4 separate regions of the Homo sapiens genome follow, and all the other regions are linked to region 2. Evidence: promoter capture Hi-C in 16 types of primary human blood cells and fetal thymus (Javierre and others, 2016). All regions are on one chromosome and are shown on one strand. The core of a region is centred on a gene start or on the middle of the fragment in contact, and the rest is flanking DNA. Distances in the headings are between cores, read along the strand shown. Region 1 overlaps PCDHA1 (protocadherin alpha 1). Region 2 holds the start of PCDHB12 (protocadherin beta 12). Region 3 has its middle 8.8 kb from the start of PCDHA1. Region 4 overlaps DIAPH1 (diaphanous related formin 1).

Region 1 (6,329 bases), core at 2,544-5,043, 270 kb before region 2:
AGGTTGGAATGAAGGTGGACTAAATTGCTGAAAGGTTTTTACAATGCTCAAATGCATGTCATATGAATATCGGAAATATTAACACTTGGCAGAACTTCAAGTGAATATGGATTACAGTCCAGGATCCTGACTAAAGTATTATGGGAAGTAAGGAATTTGTTGGTAAAGGTTGTTCTTAAGAAACAAAGCTAAATAATAAAGGTAGATAGCCACTCATTTTGTTCCCAATTTTAATTGATGGCATAAGATAATGGTTCAGGATATAAATAAATTACATGTCTGTTATATTGCATTTATGAAAAAGAAAGGACTATAAACACAAAAGGTTATTATATATTCATTTGGAACTTGTTTTGGAATCTGGAAATAAATATGCAATCTCGTATTCTCCTGTGCTGTAGAGAAAGATAAACACTTTATTTCTAACCCATCCCAAATTCCTTGGCTGTTCCTAGAGCCATCTGGTTACCATCTACAGATATTCTGTGTTCATAGGGGCACTCTAATGACATACCTTCAAAATATACTCTGAATTCAAACACATTATGGTTATTCTTTAGAATTGTTAAGCAAAGACTACAGCTGTTTTGTTTAAACTCAAAATAATGTTAATATAAAATAAAAACCAATTAAGAAGTCTTAATAGTGGGTTTTTAGGTTGATTTGTCTTTTTCTTTTCTTATTAGGTTAGGCTGGCCCTGTTAAACAAGTTGGAAATCCTGTCTCTCTCTCTGTCTCTCTCACATTTTTTTTCCTATTCCTCGGACACATTTACTGAGATTGGTGATACAGCTTTCTTAAATATTTGGTAGAATTCACTAGTGAAGCTCTCTGTACCTACAGTTTTCTTTGTAGGAAAATTTTAATTGAGATCAAATTTCTTTGTATTTTTATTGCTCCTATTTCATTCCTGTACCTTTAATTTTTTCAGATATATGTTAGTTTTATCTGTACTTTTGAATATTTTGGCATAAAGTTGTTTATAATGTCCTGTTGTGACTTTTTTTCACATCTGCAGGATCTGTAGTGATGTTTCCCTTTTCAATCCTGGTGTTAGTGTCACCTCTCATTTTTCTTGACTAGACTTGGAAGTAGTTTATTAATGATATTAGTCTTTCCAAGGCTAACTTTTGGTGTTTTGGGTTCGCTTTGTTGTATGTTTGCTTTCTATTTTATTAATTTTCATACTTTATTAATTTATTTCCTTCCTTATATGTTTATATTTCAGTGTGCAACAGAAGTACTCTAAACATACTTTTCATTTCTATTTCCTCACACAAAATGTTTAAAAGATTTGTACTTAATTGTGGAGATTTATCAAAATTAATAATAATCAGTGCTTCATCAAGGGCATTCTTACTGGTATTTTTCTTACTGCAAATGTCCAATCATGAATGTAATAACCACCAGTACAGTGTGGAGCCACTGCTTTGACTCCTTCTGTGGTTCTATGGTGGCCAGCTTTACCCACCAATGCTTTTGCATTATCAATGCAAGTGTAAATATAGTGAAAAATGCAAATAATGTTTTAACATTATTTTGAAAATTATATTCACCTCATAAACACCCAAAGGGTCCATAGACCACACTTCGAGAGCTACCGTTCTAATTCTATCATTTCTTCTTTTTTTTAATTAATTGTAACATTTCTGTAATGGGTCTTCAACTATTTGATTAGCCTGAGGTACAGTTCACACAGGAAAGGCAGGATAAATGTTTGATTCTTCCCCTTTGTTTAGCAGTATTCAAAACAATGAATTGATTCCTGGCCATCTTACAAAAAGGACCAAGGCCTTTTTTAGGTGTCATTATGAACTCATTGACTTAAACATATTTGATATGGCCCAATCCATGTCAATTATCTTTTTAATGATCAAATTATGCTAACTTTGGCAAGTTGGGAACTGTTCAGCTTTGCTCCTGAGTCTTTGTGAGTGTGTTTGTGTATCTTGTTTTAAACCTTTTATTTTGGAATAATTATGGATTCACATAAAGTTACAAAACTAGTATAGAGAGATCCCATGTGCTTGTCACCCACTTTTCCCCAGTGATAACACCCTGAATCCTTTTCATGTGAGTCTTAATAGTCTTTTGAATGCTTCCTTGATTTCTGGTATTACAAGATGTTCAGATTATCTTGTACATTTCCTTTCCCAGAATCAGCCATTTTTCAAAGAGCTTTCACTTATTTTTAGTGAAAGATGATACTTAGAGATATAATCTCAACAACAGGTGTGCTTATTGCTGCTGGGTCAGTTGCTGTTTCTAGGTATCTTCAGCTACTGAGCTAAGGGATGTCTATTTTTTAAAAGATAAAATACATCACATGTTTATACTAATCTAATAAAGTTCAGCACTCCGAGGTTTTTACTTAACTTCATCAATCTTACATTCCTATTTCTCCCATACGTCAAATCCCAGTTTTCATTAACGTCAACAGAATTACTCATTTGTTATCCCACGGGACTCAAACAATGGACTTAGAAAACAATTTCAGCACTACAGAAATAATATGATACTGTAGCAGTTTAAGTTTTTGTCATTCTTTTCATTTATAAGGCACATCCTTACAAATGCCCAGTAGGCATGTACAGTCAAATTATTGTGTTTTAAAGTATCTTGGAAAAGTTCCTCTCTGTGTAGTTAAGCCACCAGCTAGATACAGAGCTAGGCTTTTTTCAAGTCGCTTTCAAATTTAGGGCTTGCTTTTTAAATTTTAATTTTCTTTTATAATTATGTGAAATATTTACATGGCTCCAAAATAAACTTATAAAACAAAATATATTTAGAGAAGTCTAGTATCTATTATTCCATACAATACACATTCTTCCCCACTTTGAGTTTTTTCACTTAAAAATATAAACGAGATTATTTCATAGTAGTATAGTATTTACACATATTCCATACTGCTTAATGGTGTCTTTTGATTAGCAATTAATGAGCTCCAATTTATCAATATTATCTTTTTTTTTTTTTTTTGAGACAGATTCTCATTCTGTTGCCCAGGCTGGAGTAAAGTGGTACAATCTTGGCTCACTGCAATCTCTGCCTCCCGGGTTCAAGCGATTCTCCCACCTCAGCCTCCCGAGTAGCGGGGATTACAGGCACCCACCACCACACCCGGCTAATTTTTATACTTTTAGTAGAGACAGGGTTTCACCATGTTGGCCAGGCTGGTCTCGAACTCCTGACCTTAAGTGATCTGCCCGCCTTGGCCTCCTAAAGTGCTGGGATTAGAGGCCTAAACCACCACGCCCAGCCAAAGTTGTCTTTTTTATTTAGTATTCTTTCTATCCTTTTAAAGAAAACATATCCTGCTTCAAGTCATGAAGATATATTCCTGTGTTTTCTTCTATAACATTGCTATCCAATAGAACTTTCTGACATGCTATAAATTTTCTCTATCTGCATATATGGAATGTGTAGCTACTGAGCACTTGAAATGTGGCTAGTGAAACTGGGCTACTCAATTTTTAATGTTACTAATTTTAATTAATTTAAGCTTAAATAACCACATCTGTTTAGTGGTTGCTGTAGTTCTGGAAGCTTTCTTGTTTTAACTTGCACATTTAGATCTTAAATTACCTGAAATTGCTTTTGAATATAGTGCAATGTAGAAGTCAAGATTTATATTTTCCACTTGTAAATCCAGTTAGATTGCCTACTTTCCTCGCTGCTACTGTGCAGTGCTACCTTTGTCATAAGCAACGTGACTTTATATATTCTGTTTCTGGACTGTCTATTCTGTTTCATTGGTCAACTTGTCTATTCTTGTGCCAATACATTCTGTGTTAAATATAGTAACTTTTCATTTGTATTGATATCTAATTGTGTAAGTTCTCTCACTTTGTTATTCTGCTTCAAGATTAACTTAGCTATTTTTGGCCCTTTGCATTTCTATATAAATTGTAGATTCAGCTTCTCAGTTTCTATTTTAAAAAACCCTGCTTTGATTTTAATTGGCACTATATTGAATCTGTAGAAAATATGGGGTATATTGAAAATATCTTATTTTGATCTTTATTGAATCTATAAAAATATGAAGCTTGTTAACATTGACAATATTGAGACAGACAACCGATTAACAAGGTATATTCTTCCATTTATCTTTTTTTTTTTTTTTTGAGACGGAGTCTCGCTCTGTCGCCCAGGCTGGAGTGCAGTGGCGCAGTCTCGGCTCACTGCAAGCTCCGCCTCCCGGGTTCATGCCATTCTCCTGCCTCAGCCTCCCGAGTAGCTGGGACTACAGGCGCCCGCCACCATGCCCGGCTAATTTTTTGTATTTTTTGTAGAGACGGGGTTTCACCGTGTTAGCCAGGATGGTCTCGATCTCCTGACCTCGTGATTCACCCGCTTCGGCCTCCCAAAGTGCTGGGATTACAGGCGTGAGCCACCGCGCCCGGCTTCTTCCATTTATTTTATTATTTTATCTTAATGTTTATGTGTGTGTATGTGTATATAGGGGTATTGCACAACTTTTATTAGATAGCTGATATTTTAATGCTATTTTAAAAGTTTAATTTTATAATACAAAAATTAGCTGGACATGTTGGCACATACCCGTAATCCCAGCTACTCAGGAGGCTGAGGCAGGAGAATTGCTTGAACCTGCGAGGCAGAGGTTGCAGTGAGCTGGGATCGCGTCACTGCACTCTAGCCTGGGCAACAGAGTGATACTCCATCTAAAAAGAAAAAGAAAGGCAGGGCATGGTGGCTCACGCCTGTAATCCCAGCACTTTGGGAGGCTGAGGCAGGCGGATCACGAGGTCAGGAGATCAAGACCATCCTGGCTAACACGGTGAAACCCCGTCTCTACTAAAAATACAAAAAATTAGTCGGGCGTGGTGGCGGGCGTATGTAGTCCCAGCTACTCGGGAAGCTGAGGCAGGAGAATGGCATGAACCTGGAAGGCGGAACTTGGAGTGAGCCGAGATCGCGCCACTGCACTCCAGCCTGGGCGACAGAGTGAGACTCCGTCTCAAAAAAAAAAAAAAAAGTTTAATTTGATAATTGGCTTTTGTTGAAAGTATATAGAAATAATACTGATTTTATGTTAACTTTGTATCCAATGTTCTTGCTAAATAGTAAAATCTCATATTTTTATATTTTGGGTTTTCTACATATACTGTCATGCTATTCCCAAATAATGTTAGTTTTATTATTGTATTTTTTACTTTCTCTCTTTTTTTAAAAAAATAGAGATAGAGTCTCACTACATTGCCCAGGCTAGTCTGGAGCTCCTGGGCTCAAGCAATCCTCCCACGCCAGCCTCCCAAAGTGCTGGGATTACAGGCATAGGCCACCATGCCTGGTCTTTTAAAAACTTTCTAATCACATAGTTTTCTTGCTTTCTGTCATTGCCTATGAAATTCAGTATAAAATTGAATAGAAGTAATGTTAATGGATAATCTTGTCTTATTCCTGGTCTCAGAGAGGAAGTTTTTAAATATTTAATATGAAATACATTGTTTGATTGGGTTTATTTGCAAAAATCCTTTATCAGATTTATTAAGTTCCCTTTGTTTTTTAATTTATTATGTTTTTTAAAAATCATGAATAGGCATTGAATTTATCACATATTTTCTGTTATTGAATGGATAATATGGATTTTTATCCTTTTATTAATAGCATGCATTATATTGGTTGATTTGTTAATGATAAACCAATCTTGCATTCTTGGAATAAACTCAGGTTGCTTATGATGTATAATCCTTCTTTATATCATTAGACTTAGTTTCCTAACATTTTCTTTACAGTTTTTAAATATATGTTTATGATAGAAACGCGTTTCTACAGAAAAAAATAATTATTTTTAAAGGCATAGTTATTGGGTACTAGACTTAGTACCTGAATGATGAAATAATCGGTACCACAAACCCCTGTGACATGAGTTTGCGTTATAACAAACCTGCCCATGTACCCCTGAACTTAAAAGTTAAGAAGCAACACACACACACACAGATGCGCACACACACACACGCACAAGAAATTGGCTTTTAACTTTCCATTCTTATAATGCTCTAGTCGGAGTTTGGCATCAAGGCTATCCTGGCTTTATATAGTAAGTTAAGAAGTGTTACTTTTCTTTTACTTATTCGGAAGAGTTGTCTTAGTCCATTTGGGCTGCTATATCAAAATAGCATAAACTGGGTGGCTTAAAAACAATAGAAATTTATTTTTCACAATTCTGGAAGCTGGAAAGTTGATGATCAAGGTCCTGGCAGATTTGTGTCTGGTAATGGCCCACTCCCTGGTTCATAAAACAGAATGTCACCTTCTTGCTGTCTCTTCACCTTCTGGAAGGAGCAAGGTAGCTCTCTGGAACCTCT
Region 2 (6,111 bases), core at 3,105-5,604:
CTCCATTTTACATTTTAATCACTTCTTGCTATGTATTTTTTAAAAAAGATTTAACTTTCTTTTCAACTAATGTAAACCAATATAAGCACTGCACATTCCCTTTCTCCTATTCTCCCAATAAAATTGTTACAGTTTTTTTTTTCTTTTTGACAGAGTCTTACTCTGTCGCCCAGGTTGGAGTACAGTGGTGTGATCTCAGCTCACTGTAACCTCTGCTTCCCAGGTTCAAGTGATTCTCCTGCCTCAGCCTCCTGAATAGCTGGGATTACAGGCACCCACCACCACACCTGGCTAGTTTTGTAGCTTTAGTAGAGATGGGGTTTCACCATGTTGGCCAGGCTTGTCTTGAACTCCTGACCCCAGCTGATCCTCCTGCCTCAGCCTCCCAAAGTGTTGAGATTACAGGCGTGAGCCACAGTGCCCAGCCTACAGTTTTTTTTAAGTTAAACTAATAGTGTCCATATTGCTAAGCTTTCTTCAAAATACACATTAGTGTAGTGTGATTAAATTTCCTTTCTTGAGAAACATTTTTCCTAGAACTGAAAATTGTTTTGTACTTACATAATTTTCCATTTACTAATATTAGTTTCTTTACATTCTCTAATTTGAATCTCTTTCTTCTCAAAATATTCAAATATATCAGATACCTGTCAATTATGTTTATTTCTTGGTGATCTTGCACCCAGATCTCTACTTCATTCATACTGGTTGCTCTATAGGCTGTCACCCTAGGACTTTAAAAAATATTTTTCTTTGTTGGTCCTTTTTTATAAGATCCAGTACATTCTTCTTTCTTAGTTTACTCACTTATTTTGTTGATGCACATCTCTCAGTACCTTCATAAAAATGGATACAGAGGAAATAAAACTTTTTGAGAGCTTGCTTTGTTATTTTCTTTTTTTTTATTTGATTGATAGTTTGGGCATAACATTCTAGGTTGAAAATAATTTTCCCTCAGATTTCAAAAGCACTGCTCCTTTTATTGACTGCATATAGAATTGCTGTTCAGAAGACTGATTCCATTCTGATTCCTATGTCTTTTTATGTGATTCCCCCCCTTTTTTTCTTTCTTTCTGTGAGCATTGAAAAAAATTCCCCTGGTCTTCTGAAAATACCTTAGTACTGGCTCTTTATTGATTAATCTGGTTATATCGCTATGCCCTGTTCATGTTTAACTTTTCTTTTTTTTTTAAGATGATGTCTCACTGTGTTACCCAGGCTGGAGTGCAGTGGCTATTCACAGGCACAATCACAGCACCCTGCAAGCTCTAACTCGAGAGCTACTTCTGCCTCAGCCTTCCAAGTTGCTGGGACTACAGGCATGTGCTAGACCCCTTGGCTAATGTTCAGACTATCAATTTTATTTCTGAGAAATTTTGGTTGGGCATGGTGACTCACACCTGCAATCCCAGTACTTTGGGAAGCTGAGGCAGGATTATTTGAGGCCCCGAGTTTGAGACCACCCTGGGCAACATAGTGGGAACCTATCTCTACACAAAAACAATTTGTTAAAAGGAATTTCCTTGGTATGTTTTACTCATAATTTCTCCTCTGAGTTTTCTGGATTCTCACTTCAATGAAAATCTCAGTTAAATATTAGACCTCCTAGATTGACTCTATAAGACTATAAGCCATTTTTCCTTTCTTATTTTCTCTTTGCCTCTCATTCCATTTTTTGGACAATTTATTTAATCACTCAATGTTTTATGTATAAGTTTTTCTTTATGACTGAAAAATATTTACTTTTAAGAGTTGTTTTTGGTTCTCTGAATGTTTTTCATGGCATCCTGTCATAGATTTATAAATGTAATATTTTCTCTCATTTATAATTAATCTTTTCTTTAAAAATGCATTAGGCAGTATCATTATTATATATCCATTTTAAAAGTGAAAGTGAGTCTAAGGGGAGTTAAGAACTTGTCCAAGGTAATATAGCTAGTAAAAAGCACTGAAGTCCTAATCTAGTCTTCATCTTACAATAGGAATATGTACTTCATATAGTTACTATTTAGATTAAGTGGATAAATACATACTTCATACAGCTACTATTTAGATTAAATGGATAAATGCATTATGAGGCACTTAGAACAATGAGTAGCATAGAGTAAATACTAAATAAGTATTAGCTTTTATTAGATTTTCTTTCTCTGGGAATATTAACCAGACATTTTCAAAGGCTTTCTTCTGCTTTCTATATTATTGTTCCTTTTTTTTTTCTTGATGGTAGCGATGGTGGTAGTTTTGGTCTTTCTATGTTATGTTGCAGGCATTTCCTCAAATGCCTTGGCTATCTTCTCGTATTTTAGAAGGATGATATATCAAAATGCTGACAATCAACTCTGTGAGCGAACAGTACCTGTTGATGGCAGGGCTTCATTCTAATATAACCATGCTAGGATAAGTCTATTACCTTATGAGATGCCAAATATTAATATGTGTCTTCATTTGGGCTTTCATATTCTCCAGGTTAGAATTCTACAATATACACTATGGGGATAGACTAGGGGTCAGGCATACACTTTGTGTCCTACAGTCTAAGAGTATTGCATGAAAAGGGATTAGAAGTCTCACCATGCAAAATGCAAAGGTTTGCTTACTCTCCCTATTTTCAGTTTGACACCTCACACTTGTGCTCAGCTGTGCCTAGATCCCCAAGACTAGAGAAAGTCCCATTAAATTTCTCCAGAGAATAAACTTTCTATTTTCTGGCTGTGAGTTATGTTTCCATCTATGTAGGGTGATGAGAAGAACAGAGAATTCAATTATCCTCTACACATACTTCCAACTAATAACTTTTTTCCATCCTTAACTGACTTCAGTCTTCTTAAACATCTGGTTCCTCCAGATCTTGCGCTTAAAAGAGATTATGTTTCTTGTGAGTATCTTCAATGCAGGAACTTTACTTTAGGGGCACTTTTTGGAACTGCTAAGTTAATTGCTCTTCCACCTGCTTTCTGTCATAGAAAAATGTATGTGTTCACTTGTGTATTCTTAATCTTTGTTAGTTCCTACCATTTTAATTACTTTTCTGCCATTTTAGTGCATATTTTTTTTTAAAAAGAGAGGTTAATTGTGTGTGCTCAATTCATCTACTTTTCAAGTTTTACCCTTCTGTACCAATTACTATTTCAACCATGTATCCAGCTTACATTTTTAAGAATATTAATTGAATTTAACATTTTAAAATGCAGACTTGTTGGATTCTTCTCCCATCCATTCTTAGTGCACTTTAAGACTTTCTATAGTGAATATCACTGATGAGCCCTTAGCATCTGTTGCAAACAGTCTCCCTCATTTTGTACCAATGAGGTACTTTGGCTAGGACTGAAACCTTCCCAAGCTTAAGAGGTGGTCCCAGACAGGATTAAAACACAGTAATGGCCAGAGACAGGTCTTTAGATTCTAGGACTAAAATCTCCAACTATAATTCTATACCTCTTGAAACAATGATTGCTTCAGTGGCAGACACATGATCTTACTTGGTCTAATTAGAGTGAAAGTTAGGTTTTTGTTCTATGTTTAGGGATAGACTCTTACTTTCTCTTCCTGGGCTGAAAGAGAAAACAGATAGCTACAGTTGTGGCTACAATAAATTTTGGGAACCTAAGGCAAGTCAGCTTTAGGAATAAGAGTCTGCTTTAAATTAAACTAACTTGCTCATGCTTGTGTACTTATGAATTTTTTTGTAAATTATGAAAAACTGGAACTAAATGATGGGTTTACATAACATGTTCCACCCCAATCTCTTGCTTCATTTTCTGCCTGTTCACAATTCATTGCTATTAAGGAAATCTACAGAAGTGCCTTTTTATGCTGTTGTGTTGACCTATATATGCCTCATCTCATGGTTAATCCAGTTTCATAACTTCAGAAAGGATTTCTGAGATGACCTTTCCTTTACCTTATCACGTAAGGAAAGCCAAGTAGTAATAGAATTTCATTCAGCTTAACAATCACTTATACCCTGCTTGTTTCAGGCTTACAATTGTCTCAGAAACACTATGAATTCCTGGGAGCCAGGGATCACATCTTGTATCTGTGTTTACCACAACTGAACACATTTGGTTGTGAGAAGAGTGGGGAAAGACACTGAATAAATGCTTTAAAACAAAATCATCATCACAAACTATAAAGAATATAAAACGATTATTATGGAAGATAAAATATATTTTTAATTACTTCAACAGAAGGAATTATTTAAACGCAATATTTATTTGCTTCTGGAGGACATTTATGTAAATAAAATTTAGGTAGTGTTCATCAAACTGTGAAAATCTGTGGAGACGCGTGGTGGCGCTGCAGGATAATATCAAGAAAAAAATTACCCTGGAGGATGTTGTAGACCCTGTTATCCAGTACACGCGGAGAACTGGGAAGACAGAAAGAACAATCCTTTAAGGGAGAACCTAGAAGCCATTCAACAAGGTTAAAATCTTCAGGCTTCCGAGGATTTGGTAGACAGATCAGAGGCACGTTTCCCACAACTGCGAAGAGGCGCTGAGGCAATTCTGCAAGAAGATTTTGGGGTTTTGGAAAAGAAGCTATGGAAAACGGAGGGGCAGGCACTCTGCAGATAAGGCAAGTCCTGCTTTTCTTTGTTTTGCTGGGAATGTCTCAGGCGGGCTCTGAAACTGGGAACTTTTTGGTGATGGAGGAATTGCAGAGCGGGAGCTTTGTAGGAAATTTGGCAAAGACCCTGGGACTCGAGGTGAGTGAGCTGTCTTCGCGGGGGGCTCGGGTGGTTTCTAATGATAACAAAGAGTGTTTGCAGCTGGACACAAACACTGGGGATTTGCTCCTGAGAGAAATGCTAGACAGGGAGGAGCTCTGTGGCTCCAATGAGCCTTGTGTGCTGTATTTCCAAGTGTTAATGAAAAACCCCACGCAGTTTTTACAAATTGAGCTCCAGGTCAGGGATATAAATGATCACTCTCCCGTCTTCTTGGAAAAAGAAATGCTCTTAGAAATCCCAGAGAACAGTCCTGTTGGTGCTGTGTTCTTGCTTGAAAGTGCAAAGGATTTAGATGTAGGAATCAATGCTGTAAAAAGCTACACAATAAATCCGAACTCTCATTTCCACGTTAAAATAAGAGTCAATCCAGACAATAGGAAATACCCTGAGTTAGTTCTGGACAAGGCGCTGGATTATGAAGAGCGCCCGGAGCTCAGTTTCATCCTCACTGCTCTGGATGGCGGGTCCCCTCCCAGGTCTGGAACTGCCTTGGTCAGGGTGGTGGTTGTAGATATTAATGACAACTCCCCTGAGTTTGAGCAGGCTTTTTATGAGGTGAAGATTCTGGAGAATAGCATCCTTGGCTCCCTGGTTGTGACCGTCTCAGCCTGGGATTTAGACTCTGGAACAAACAGTGAACTATCCTATACCTTTTCCCATGCCTCAGAAGATATTCGCAAGACATTTGAAATTAATCAAAAGTCTGGTGACATTACTTTAACAGCACCTTTGGATTTTGAAGCAATTGAGTCATACTCAATAATCATTCAAGCCACAGATGGGGGAGGACTTTTTGGAAAATCTACAGTCAGAATTCAGGTGATGGATGTAAACGACAACGCTCCTGAAATCACTGTGTCATCAATTACCAGTCCAATCCCAGAAAACACTCCAGAGACTGTGGTTATGGTTTTCAGGATACGAGACAGAGACTCTGGGGACAACGGAAAGATGGTTTGTTCTATCCCGGAGGACATCCCATTCGTGCTAAAATCTTCGGTAAATAATTACTACACTTTGGAAACAGAGAGACCGCTGGACAGAGAGAGCAGAGCCGAGTACAACATCACCATCACCGTCACCGACTTGGGGACCCCCAGGCTAAAAACCGAGCACAACATAACCGTGCTGGTCTCCGACGTCAATGACAACGCCCCCGCCTTCACCCAAACTTCCTACGCCCTGTTCGTCCGCGAGAACAACAGCCCCGCCCTGCACATCGGCAGCATCAGCGCCACAGACAGAGACTCGGGCACCAACGCCCAGGTCAACTACTCGCTGCTGCCGTCCCAGGACCCGCACCTGCCCCTCGCCTCCCTGGTCTCCATCAACGCGGACAACGGCCACCTGTTTGCCCTCAGGTCGCTGGACTACGAGGC
Region 3 (6,000 bases), core at 2,121-4,620, 430 kb before region 2:
CTCTGATGATAGTTTCTTTTGCTGTGCAGAAGGTATTTAGTTTAACTAGACCTCATTTATCAATTTTTGCTTCTGTTGCAATTGCTTTTGGTGATTTCATCATAAAATCTTTGCTCATGCCTATGTCCTGAATGGTGTTGCTTATATTTTCTTCTAGGGTTTTTATGGTTTTGGGTTTTATATTTAAGTCTTTAATCCATATTGAGTTAATTTTTATATAAGGTGTAAGGAAGGGGTCCAGTTTCAATTTTCTGCATATGACCAGCCAGTTTTCCCAGCACTATTAATTAAGTAGGGAATTCTTTTCCAATTGCTTGTTTTTGTCAAGTTTGTTAAAGGTCAGATGGTTGTAAATGTGTGGTCTTATTTCTGAGATCTCTATTCTGTTCCATTGGTCTATGTGTCTGTTTTGGTACCAGTACCATGCTGTTTTGGTTACTGTAGCCTTGTAGTATAGTTTGAAGTCAGGTAGCGTGATGCCTCCAGCTTTGTTCTTTTTGCTTAGAATTGTCTTGGCTATATGGGCTCTTTTTTTGTTCCATACGAATTTTAAAGTCATTTTTTCTAATTCTGTGAAGAATGTCAATGGTAGTTTGATGGAAATAACATTGACTCTATAAATTACTTTGGGCGGTGTGGCCATTTTCATGATATTGATTATTCCTATTCATGAGGATGGAATGTTTTTCCATTTGTTGTGTCCTATCTTATTTCCTTGAGCAGTGGTTTGTAGTTCTCCTTGACGAGGTCCTTCACATCTTTTGTTAGCTGTATTCCTAGGTATTTTATTCTCTTTGTAGCAATTGTGAATGGGAGTTCATTCATGATTTGGCTCTCTGCTTGTCTATTGTTGGTGTACAGGAATGCTTGTGATTTTTGCACATTGATTTTGTGTCCTGAGACTTTGCTGAAGTTGCTTATCAGCTTAAGGAGCTTTTGGGCTGAGACAATGGGTTTTTCTAGATATAGGATCATGTTGTCTGCAAACAGAGGCAATTTGACTTCCTCTTTTCCTATTTGAATACCCGTTATTTCTTTCTCTTGCCTGATTGCCCTGGCCAGAACTTCCAATACTATGTTGAATAGGAGTGGTGAGAGAGGGCATCTTTGTCTTGTGCTGCTTTTCAAGGGAAGTGCTTCTGGGTTTTGCCCATTCTGTATGATATTGGCTATGGGTTTGTCGTAAATGGCTCTTACTATTTTGAGATATGTTCCATCAATACCTAGTTTATTGATTGTTTTTAACATGAAAGGATGTTGAATTTTATCAAAGGCTTTTTCGGCATCTTTTGAGATAATCTTGTGGTTTTTGTCATTAGTTCCGTTTATGTGATGAATTATGTTTATTAATTTGCGTATGTTGAACCAGCCTTGCATCCCAGGGATGAAGCAGACTTGATCATGGTGGATAAACTTTTTGATGTGCTGCTGGATTCAGTTTGACAGTATTTTATTGAGGATTTTTGCATCAGTGTTCATCAGGGATACTGGCCTGAAGTTTTCCTTTTTTGTTGTATCTCTGCCAGGTTTTGGTATCAGGATGGTACCTCTGTCCAGTTCTGTGCACTTGCTGGAGAAGTGTTGTGATCATTTGGAGAAGAGGCACTCTGGCCTTTTGAGTTTTCAGCATTTTTCAGCCACAGCCTGTATACTGCACTGTGGGGATTACCTCTTGGAACCAAGCTGTCCTGTCTCTCCGGCTCCAGGAGGGGAAAAATGTGGTCTAGAGCTATAGTGATGGCTGCCACCCTCCCCGCTACCCCCAGTTCAGTGTCAGGTAGCAGTGTACTTAGCTAGCAGCTGGAGTAATGTTTGCCTTCCCTCCCGCAGGGAGCTCAGTTTTCTTAGGCAGCTAGCAACCACAGTGATGAGGGCCGCCCCCACCTCAGGGAGCTCAGTTGTCTTAGGCAGCTGACAGCCGCAGTGATGGCTGCCATCTCTCCCCCTGGAAGCTCAGATGGCTTAGACAGCAGGCAGCTGCAGTGATGATGGCGGCTTCTCCTCCGGGAACTCATTACCTTTAGGCAGATTCCAGCAAGAGTGGCTGTTGAGAGTCTGTGCAGCTCTGTGGTTGGGACCCAAGGCCCTGGTAGTATGGGCTCACGAGTGGAATCTTCCGATCTGTGGGTTGCGCAGATCTGTGGAAAAAGCACGGTTTCCCAGGCAAGATAGCATACTCATTCACCACCTTCCTTGGTTGGGGGTGGGGTTTGCCCTTTCTCCATGTGGGCCGACGCAGCACCCTGCTTTTTCTTGCTCTTTATGGGTCACACCAACTGCCTAGTCAGTCCTGATGATAAAACCTGGATACCTCGATTGCCAGTGCAGGATTGACATGCTGTTTTGTTTCTTCTCAATTGGAGCCTCTAACTGCTGCTGCTTCTAGTTAGCCATCTTGGTCCCGCCAAGCTCAAGACATTTTTATAAGGGATGATACCAGCCATTTAGTCCGTCTCTAAAGAGCTGATGGTCCTAAGAATTTAACCATGTCAATGAAGAATTGTTTACATTATTAACTGAAGGAAAATGGATGCTCTTTAAAGATTTTTTAAGATTGGGAAATAAAGAAAAGTCAGAAATAATCACACTGGGGCAGGGCATGGTGGCCCACACTTGTAATCCCAGAACTGTGGGAAGCAGAGGCAGGTGGATCACTTGAGGTCAGGAGTTTGAGACCAGCCTGGCCAACGTGGTGAAAACCCATCTCTATTAAAATATAAAAATTACCTGGGCAAGATGGCACACACCTGTAATCCCAGCTACTCAGGAGGCTGAAGCAGGAGAATCACATGAACCTGGGAGGTGGAGGTTGCGGTGAGCCAAGATCGTGCCACTGCACTCCAGCCTGGGCGACAGAGTGAGACCCTGTCTCGAAAAAAAAGAAAAAGAAAAAAAAGAAATAACCAAACTGGGACTGTATGGTGGATGCCCAGTGATTTTACATGTCAGAATTCTTGTGAAATTGCCCTTGTTGAGAGGAATGAACATGAGCGTTGTTGTGGTGGAGAAGAACTCTATAGTAAAGCTTTCCTGGTTATTTTTCTGCTAAAGCTTGGCTTTCTTAAAACGTTCTCTGGCCCTCCAGAAAGTCAACAAGCAAAATACCTTTAAGATCTGCAAAACCTGTTGTCATGACCTTTGCTTTTTGTGTGTGTTGGGACCTTTGCTTTTGACCAGCCAGCTTTTACTTTGACTAGACAATTTACACCTCTTGATAGCATTGCTTTGATTGTGCTTTGTCTTCAAGATCATACTGCTAAAGCCATGTTTCATCTCCCGTTACAATTCTCCAAAGAAAGTATTCAGAATCTTGATCCCATTGTTTAAAATTTCCATGGAAACTCAGCTCTTATCTGCAGCTGATCTGGGTGCAATTTGGCACCCATTGAGCAGAAATTTGCTCAACTTTAATTTTTTAGTCAGAATTGTGTAAGCTGAACCATCTGGGATGTCTATGGTATTTCCTAGTGTATCTGCTGTTAATCATTGGCCCTGTTCAATTACGGTATGAACAGGACTAATTTGTTTCTTATAAAATGATATGGATAGCCTGTCACTACAGGCTTTATCTCCAACATCATCTTATCCCTTCTTAAAACAAGTTATTCATTTGTACACTACTTATTTCTTTGAGGCATTGTCCTCATAAACTTTTCATAAAGTGTCAATGATTTCATTATTCTTCCACCCAAGCTTCACCATAAATCTGATGTTTGTTCTTGCTTCAATTTTAGTGAATTCATGTTGCTCTAATCGGGAGTCTTTTCAAACGGAAGTCCTATCCTTCTTTGTGGCTTAAACTAGATCCTGCTCAGACATGTTATAACAAGTTAATACAAGTTTATTATGATGCAAACTTTATTTAAATTCATGCATATTTTTTCATAGTACGCATTTTTCATGAACTTTTTGAAGACCTCTTGTATTTTCTGGGAGAGATTAGTATTGGTGTTATTTTTTAAATTAAATTTTTTTTACCTCATACCATGTATTTTTTTTTATTCCTTTGAGACATCGTCTTTGGCCCATGGATTATTTAGAGATACGTTAACATCCAAGTGTTAGAATATTTTTCTTTTATCTTTATGTTATTGATTTCTCCTTTGATTCCATTGTGGTCACAGAACACACTCTGTATGATTTCATGTCTTTTACATTTACTGAGGCTTGTTTTATGACTCAGGGCAAGATGTGTTTTGAGATATGTTTCACTGGCACTTGGAAGAGTGTATTTTGAAATTTTTTTTTTTTGAGATGATGGAGTCTCTCTCTCTCTCTCTCTTTTTTTTTTTTGAGACAGAGTCTCACTCTGTTGCCCAGGCTGGAGTGCAGTGGCATGATCTTGGCTCTTGGCTCACTGCAACCTCCACCTCCCGGGCTCAAGTGATTCTCCTGCCTCAGCCTCCCAAGCAGCTGGGACTACAGGCATGCACCACCACACCTGGCTAATTTTTGTATTTTTAGTAGAGACAGGGTTTCACCATGTTGGCCAGGCTGATCTCGAACTCCTGACCTCAAGTGATCTGCTTGCCTCAGTGTCTCAAAGTGCTGGGATTACAGGTGTGAGCCACTGTGCTCAGCCCGTGATTGTTGAATAGTGTGTTCTATAAATGTCAATTAGTTTCCATTGGTTAGTGATGTTACTGAGTTCTTCTATATTCTTGCTGATTTTCTTTTTAGTTGTTCTGTTATTTGTTGAGAGAGAATTGTTGAAGTCTCCAATTATAATTGTGGATTTATCTGTTTCTCCTTTTAGTTCTATGAGATTTTGTTTCACAGCTCTGTTGTTTGGTGCATACACATTTAGGGTTGCCATGTCTTTTTGGTGGATTGACTCCTTATCATTTATAATTTTCCTCTCTCTCTCTCTCTCTTTTTTTTTGAGACAGGGTCTCACTCTGTCATCCGGACTGGAGTGCAGTGGTGTGATCTCGGCTCACTGCAACCTCCACCTCTCAGGATCAAGTGATTTTCCTGCCTCAGCCTCCCAAGTAGCTAGGATTACAAGCGCGCACCACTACCGCCAGGCTCATTTTTGTATTTTTAGTAGAGAGGGGATTTCATCACGTTGGCCGGGCTGGTCTTGAACTCCTGACCACAAATGATCCACCCGCCTTGGCCTCCCAAGTTGCTGGGATTACATGCATGAGCCACCGCTCCTGGCCTGATTTTCCTCTATATACCGGTAGTTATCTTTGTCTTGAACTCTATTTGATAGATGCTTCTGCTTTCCTTTGATCACTTCTGACTAAAAAATTAAAGTTGAGCAAATTTCTCCTCAATGGGTCCAAAACCATTGCACCTAGATCAGCTGCAGATGAGAACTGAGTTTCCATGGAAATTTTAAACAATGGGATCAAGATTCTGAATACTTTCTTTGGAGAACTGTAACAGGAGATGACACATGGCTTTAGCAGTATGATCTTGAAGACAAAGCACAATCAAAGCAATGCTACCAAGAGGTGCAAATGGCCTAGTCAAAGTAAAAGCAGGCTGGTCAAAAGCAAAGGTCCCAACACACACAAAAAGCAAAGGTCATGGCAACAGGTTTTGGGGATGCTCAAGACATTTTGCTTGTTGATATAGCTTTTACATTTTTAATTTTAATCTCCCTGTATTTTTATATTTCAAGTGAGATACTCATAGGCAGCATGTAATTGGGTCTTTTTTTGATTCACTTAGTCAGTTTTTTTTTCTCTTTCTTTTTCTTTTCTTTTCTTTCTTTCTTTTTTTTTTTTGAGACAGGGTTTTGCTCTGTCACTCAGGCTAGAGTGCAGTGATATGGTGTTGGCTCACTGCAGCCTTGATCTCTCAGGCTCAAGTGATCCTCCCACCTCACCCTCCTAAGTAACTGAGAGTACAGGTGCATGCCACCATGTCCAGCTAATTTTGTTTATTTTTTGTAGAGACAAGGTCTTACTATGTTGCCTAGGTTGGTCTTGAACCCCTGGGCTCAAGAAATCCTCCCACTTTGGCCTTCCAAAATGTTGGAATTACAGG
Region 4 (6,343 bases), core at 3,412-5,911, 360 kb after region 2:
AAGAGACTCACTGAACAAGGTAGAGCAGGCTGAGCTCTCACAAAACCTTGCTGCTAAAGGTTAAAGCTGCAGAAGCTACAAAAATTCACTAATAAAGATGCAACTGGGTGAGTGCCACCTAGTGGACAGAAGAGATATCACAGGGAAAAAGAAAAAGACCCTCAGATTCTTTTTGGGAAAGGGGCTCCTGCTGAAGCCTGAAGCAAGAAAATTATGTCAGGGCAGCAGACAGGTAAACCTATCTGTTACGGCTAACAGTTCTGACTTCTGGAACAACAGTACTGGACCCACACAGTCAAATGCTAACTAGAATACTGTTATTTTTTAATAAAATTCTCAATTCTTAGTGAAGGTCTTTTTAGCCAGAGTTTTTTCTAAATTACTGCCATTAAATATTTGGAGAACTGTTCTGATGCTCACAGTTCACATAACACACCTCTTACTTTAACAAGTCTAATGTTCCATATTGTTTCTGGAAGGAAGGAATAAACCTAAAAATAAAAGTCACTGTACTATTTATTTAAGACATGAGTTATCACTCACCATGCTATGGTTCAAGAGGTGGTAGTGTAATGATCACATAATCAACAAAAGACAGCGAAGAGAAGAAATGGAAAATGAAAAACTAGTTTATCTTGTACATACAAATAATGAGCTGCCTAAGGCTACTACAGCAATGAAAATGCTCCCTTGGAGAAAATGAAACAAAAAAAAAAAAAAAGAAATTTAACTATTGGACCTATTTCCAAGAAATTCAAAAAGAGTCAACAAAGACTCCTTGCTGATCACTATAAGGAAAGTGAGAATGTGAAAAAGGACCAGAAGTTTTATGGCACTGCCTATCAAAAGTAAATTCAAAATATTCTCTGGCAGGGAATAAGTTAACTGAGTAAGTAAATACCTCATTTATGGGAAACAAAGCCTTCAGAAACAAGACACTAATCCTTAAAAGAGAAATAATGTGTAAAAGAATCTGGAGTATAATATTCTAGGACCAGTTCCTGTCTCTCAGCTCTTCTCTTGTAAAAAGGCACACATATTCTGCTTCAGAATATGTGTAACAGGAGACTTTTCACTACAGGAGGCAAATGTGCAGAGTGAGGCAGGTGCTTTCTTCAATGCCCATTCTTGGAGGGGCCAGTAGGTATACCGAAGGTTTTAGGTATCAATAAAACATAAGGGGGATACAGGCATGCTTAACAAATAGCAGAGTTGTGTTTAGCAAGCAAGAGAGGAAATAATGCAATATGATGAAAACCCAGTGTCCAAATAACTTCTTCATCAATACTGGCAACCACCTGGACTGAAATCACCTAAGCAGTGCTTCTACTAGATAAACATGTCTTATTTCTTCAACTGGATTAGTTTTGCTAGAGTTGAATACAGTCAGAATATGCCTTCTCTTTTATAACCCTAAATATCTAGTATCTCACTTACTTTTTTTAATCTATTATTGTTCCCTTTTTTCTACTCAGTCACTGCCAATTCAAGGACATTTGCGTCTGAATGAATGAAGTGGTTCCTGAAGGCGGCATATCCCCTTTCTTGCAGCTTTTGTCTGGATCTAAGCTTTCAGAGGCTCTTAGGGCAAGTACATACACACTTCCTAAGAAGTAGAAGGCTAGAGCAAGGACTTTGGAGTCACTGTTTGGAGTCTGAATTCTGACACTTTTTATACAGTTTGGAAAAAGTTATCTAATCTATGTCACTACTTCATCTGGAAGATGAAATATTTACAAGGTTGATAATGAGTAGTTATCTATCATTTAATTATATCATCAATATCAAGACTATGAATGAGAGACTTGGTAACTGACACTGGCTTCAGCATTCAAACTGAACTGGTTCAATATTCAATTCAGTATTCAAGAATTACTTTTAAAAAGTAGTAAGGATGGCCGGGCACAGTGGCTCATGCCTGTAATCCCAGCACTTTGGGAGGCCAAGGTGGGCAGATCACCTGAGGTCAGGAGTTCAAGACCAGCCTGCCCAACATGGTAAAACTCCATCTCTACAAAAATACAAAAATTAGCTGGACATGATGGTGGGTGCCTGTAATCCCAGCTACTCAGGAGGCTGAGGCAGGAGAATCCCTTGAACCCGGGAGGCGAAGGCTGCAGTGAGCACGATCGCGCCAGTGCACTCCAGCCTGGGCGACAGAGCAACACTCTGTCTCAAAAATAAAAATAAAAATAAAAAAAATAAAAGTAGTTAAGGATGAAGATCTTTTTCTGAAATATAAATACTAGAGATGTTTAAAGCACTGAAGTAAAGTATACTTGCTGTCATACTGAGGAGATCTGGGTCTTCTGAGTGCTTGCAATTTTTGAGAGCTTGAAATTCCTTATCTGACAAAAACCTAAACTCTAAATAAGAAGCACAAAGATCTTTTACTAAAGTTTTCTTTTTATTGGCCTTTTGTGACTAAGGGGGCCACTTTGGTATTTTAAAAAATACTACCATATCCCAATTCATAATGAGAATATAATGCCAAGGAAGACCACTAAACTGTATAAAACCCAACTAGAATTAATAGGAATACAAATGCACCAAATAAAAAGATGGGGATGGGGGTGGGGGGAGAAAAGGGGCCCAGTCAGTATTCATTTGCAATGGCACTAAAAGTGCAGAGCCCAGACTCAAGAAAGAAACTTATGCCAGAGGCCAACATAGGGATTCTGTGAACTTACAAATTAGAAAATCATTTAATTTTGACTTTGTCAACTAGTCTTTATTGATAGACTAATACAGTATATGTGGTTACCATCCCAGTATTTTAATTAAGAGAGTGGAATTAATCCCTTAGGCTGGACTTTGGCATGGAAGGTGACAATTTTCTTAGAGGAAAAGGCCATTTTGACCTGAATGACAGGGCAACAAGACAGATCTGAGCATTATGGTCTTATACTCCTAGATACACACACACACATATGTAACTAGGGGCCACCAAGGCACCTCACAATCTGTTAGACTCCTTATTAGAACAAAGTGCAGCCTGTTTCCATCAGATCACTTAAGGAAAAAAAAAGGAATTGCCTTTAAAAATACTAATTGACTAGGGGGAGGTGGGGAAAATAAATGCTCCAAAGTTGCACTTAATTTTCATCACTAGGGTCATAGTAAGCCTCTAAACAAACAAAAATGCTGGAAGAAGATAAAAATATGAAATTATTGGGCTATAATTGTCATTATACATGACACAATCTTTCAAATACTATCTCAGGGGAAGTAACTATAAGTACCCTATCACAAGGTAGCACAAAACCACAAGAATTAGGAAGTCAAGAAAGAAGAGGGCAAAGTAGATCAGCTCTTGTAAAATAAAAGGAACCATATGAAGGCTAAAAAAGAAAATCAAGAATTTATATAGAAAAAATGGACCAGAAGTCAAGACTCCTGGTTCTGATCACATAACCTTGGGAAAGCTACCTAACTGTTCAGAGTCTATATATGCTACAGAATGGAGATGATACACATCCTGCCTGTCTCATAAGGCTTCTCTGCATATCAAATAGGGTCATATATGTTAAGGCACTATGAAAATTGTAAAACAGCACAAATGTAAGGTAATAGTATTATTGCTTACGTTGTCCCTCACCTTCTAAAGAGATTAAGTATGTGGTAGTTTAACGGGAAGCAAACTTTCCTCCCTATTAGTTAATGCCAAAGCTATTGGTCATTTTGAACTCCAGGGGAGGAAACAAAAACAAAAAACACCTAGCAAAGACAAGTCAACCCTCAATCTCTGGTCTCAGTTTTCTAATGAGAAATTCCTTTATATCTATTTCATCTTTTTCTCTAATATTCAAGAGACCAAACTAAAAGGCTCTTTTGTATTCTTACCTTTGGAAGCTTCAGGAGCAAAGTGCCAGGAGGGAGAAGGCATCCAATATTGGAAAGAAATGGAAGGAAGAAAAGGAATCACATATGGTTCTTGTTACTGTAGACAGTCACTCAGTCACCCAAACTGTTAAAGACTCTTTCCAACCCTTATTAATTATGTACTTAGAACTGGAAACTGCACCTTAAGGCAGTGCCAGAATCTGTTCAAAAGTATCAAAATGGGCCCAAATCAAGCTCTGTCACTTTAATCTCATATCCCTAACAAGTTATACTGATACAAAATACCTACATACAACAGTTCTCTTTCCCAAACCAAGTAACTCCATAATATTTAATACAAAAACATCTTTTCTTTCTTTTGAATGGGAAAATCCATCAGTCTTCCATCCAACATACCCTTTCTATCTTCACCCAGGGAAGGGAAGGGAATAGGAAACCTAATGAAAAAATATTCTAAGCCCTACACTGGACCTTTGCATCAAAGAGGAAGGTACTCACTCTTGGTCTGGGCAGAGAAGGTAAGGGTAAGTTTGGCGAAAAGTTCATTGTTCTCAAAGCGGTCCTCCTTCACCTTTGTCCAGAAGCAGTCCTGGGAGAGGTCCTCAGCCACAAGCTGTGGATAAAGGCAGGGTGTTAAGAATTAGTAAACTGAGCCCTGTACTTTCCGTCCTAGAAAACGGATGAGGCTGTAAAATAGGTGGCTGGCTGATTATCAGCAATGTCTTACTAGAATAAGACTAACTTGAGGCACAGAATAGCTGCAGTGGGATTAGGAGAGAATACTTCCAGTTCATCTGTTAATTGGTGATTATTCAAGAACTAGATTCATATATATACTACGTATCCTCCTCCTAACTCCAAATCCTCTAGCTTCATAACCATTAAGGCTTTATTTCAGAGAAGTCTTGCTCATCATTAAATTTCTCCCACCAGTTTGGCTAACTGTGCCAAATTTGCTCATTTTATGAGCAAATCCCTAAGGTCCTTTATATTAACTTGGTTTCTAGAAGAAAAAGGCTAACTCACTCAGAATCACAGGCATCTCAAACACATCATGGGAACAATACTGTGCATGCAAATATGGCCTATGTAGGCCAGGTGTGGTGGCTCACGTCTGTAATCCCAGCACTCTGGGAGGCCAAGGTGGGCGGATCACAAGGTCAGGAGTTCGAGAGCAGCCAGACCAACATGGTGAAACCCCATCTCTACTAAAAATACAAAAATTAGCCAGGCATGGTGGCACACGCCTGTAATCCTAGCTACTCAGGAGGCTGAGGTTGCAGTGAGCAGAGATTATGCCACTGCACTCCAGCCTGGGCAACAGAGCAAGACTCCAACTCAAAAAAAAAAAAAAAAATGGCCTGTGTAACTCACATCCTGCGGAATTGGGATAGGAGAGTGGATTCATAAATCCATGACTTTGGGATCAGCACAATTATCAGTAGTTTGCAGACTGGTGAATGACTATTATCAAACTGTGTGTTACCATGGTATTCACAGCCTCAGAGAAAAGGCAAAAAACATTAAGTTAAGATTAAATTCAGAATACAGGGTTCACAGAACTCTCCGTGGTGATGTATGGAATAAAGAAGATGCCTAATATCTCCTGAATAAACATAAGCATGAGTGAAGCTTAAAGATAGAAAGATGAAAGCCTTAAGGCGTAGCCCATCCATGCACAAAATACAAAGTAGAAAACTGAAACTGTTTCTTAAGATTGACTGGTGGGCCGGGCGCGGTGGCTCACGCCTGTAATCCCAGCACTTTGGGAGGCCGAGACGGGCGGATCACGAGGTCAGGAGATCGAGACCATCCTGGCTAACACGGTGAAATCCCGTCTCTACTAAAAATACAAAAATTAGCCGGGCGTGGTGGCGCGCGCCTATAGTCCCAGCTACACGGGAGGCTGAGGCAGGAGAATGGCGTGAACCCGGGAGGCGGAGCTTGCAGTGAGCCGAGATCGCACCACTGCACTCCAGCCTGGGCGACAGAGCGAAACTCCGTCTCAAAAAAAAAAAAAAAAAAAAAAGATTGACTGGTGAAGAAATAGACAGAAACTCTTACCTTGGACCAGTTTGGCCTCCGGAGCTGCACCTCTGGCTTATAAAGCTTTTTGGGGGTTAATCCAAATGGCAGAACTGGGGCTGCAGGAACTCCAAATCCAAATGGGGGAGGTGGAGGCATACCCATTCCGGGTGGAGGTGGAGGAATGCCAGGGCCTCCGGGAAATGGAGGAGGTGGAGGGATTCCAGGACCACCAGGAAGAGGGGGAGGAGGAGGTGGCATTCCTGCTTCTCCAGGCAAGGGAGGAGGTGGGGGGGGAATTCCAGCACTCCCAGGCAAAGGAGGTGGTGGTGGGGGGATTCTAGCACTCCCAGGCAAAGGAGGAGGTGGGGGGATGGCAGTACCTCCAGGCAAAGAAGAGGGTGAAGGGATGCCAACACCCTCAGGCAAAGGAGGGGGTGGAGGGATGGTAGCATCCCCAGACAAAGGAGGGGGT

The links. Contacts are between HindIII fragments. The CHiCAGO score rates a contact against its expected background, and 5 or more counts as called.
Region 1: a fragment that was not itself captured here is called in contact with the fragment with the promoter of PCDHB12 in region 2 in 1 of 17 cell types (M2 macrophages); the score reaches 6.1 in M2 macrophages.
Region 3: a contact is called between a fragment that was not itself captured here and the fragment with the promoter of PCDHB12 in region 2, in 1 of 17 cell types (M2 macrophages). The highest score is 9.0, in M2 macrophages.
Region 4: a fragment that was not itself captured here is called in contact with the fragment with the promoter of PCDHB12 in region 2 in 1 of 17 cell types (fetal thymus); the score reaches 7.1 in fetal thymus.

Annotation. Positions count from the first base shown.
Region 1 is chr5:140,932,932-140,939,260 of GRCh38, forward strand. The region is part of intron 1 of PCDHA1 (protocadherin alpha 1); the gene reads left to right. The region is part of intron 1 of PCDHA2 (protocadherin alpha 2); the gene reads left to right. The region is part of intron 1 of PCDHA3 (protocadherin alpha 3); the gene reads left to right. The region is part of intron 1 of PCDHA4 (protocadherin alpha 4); the gene reads left to right. It also overlaps PCDHA5, PCDHA6, PCDHA7, PCDHA8, PCDHA9 and PCDHA10, and 5 more genes. Among named protein-coding and RNA genes, the nearest start is that of PCDHAC1, 9.8 kb to the left of the region's middle. The HindIII fragment of the contact is 499 bases long and covers 3,545-4,043 here.
Region 2 is chr5:141,204,365-141,210,475 of GRCh38, forward strand. It overlaps PCDHB12 (protocadherin beta 12), which reads left to right and starts at 4,355. Exons shown (of 1, transcript NM_018932.4): 1 at 4,355-6,111. The coding sequence starts at 4,544. It also overlaps PCDHB@. RefSeq lists an enhancer at 5,787-6,111. The HindIII fragment of the contact is 7,272 bases long and covers 3,339-6,111 here.
Region 3 is chr5:140,774,375-140,780,374 of GRCh38, forward strand. No RefSeq gene overlaps it. Among named protein-coding and RNA genes, the nearest start is that of PCDHA1, 8.8 kb to the right of the region's middle. The HindIII fragment of the contact is 642 bases long and covers 3,050-3,691 here.
Region 4 is chr5:141,567,585-141,573,927 of GRCh38, forward strand. It overlaps DIAPH1 (diaphanous related formin 1), which reads right to left. Exons shown (of 28, transcript NM_005219.5): 16 at 5,908-6,343; 17 at 4,342-4,456; 18 at 3,844-3,852. Among named protein-coding and RNA genes, the nearest start is that of DIAPH1-AS1, 12 kb to the left of the region's middle. The HindIII fragment of the contact is 1,623 bases long and covers 3,851-5,473 here.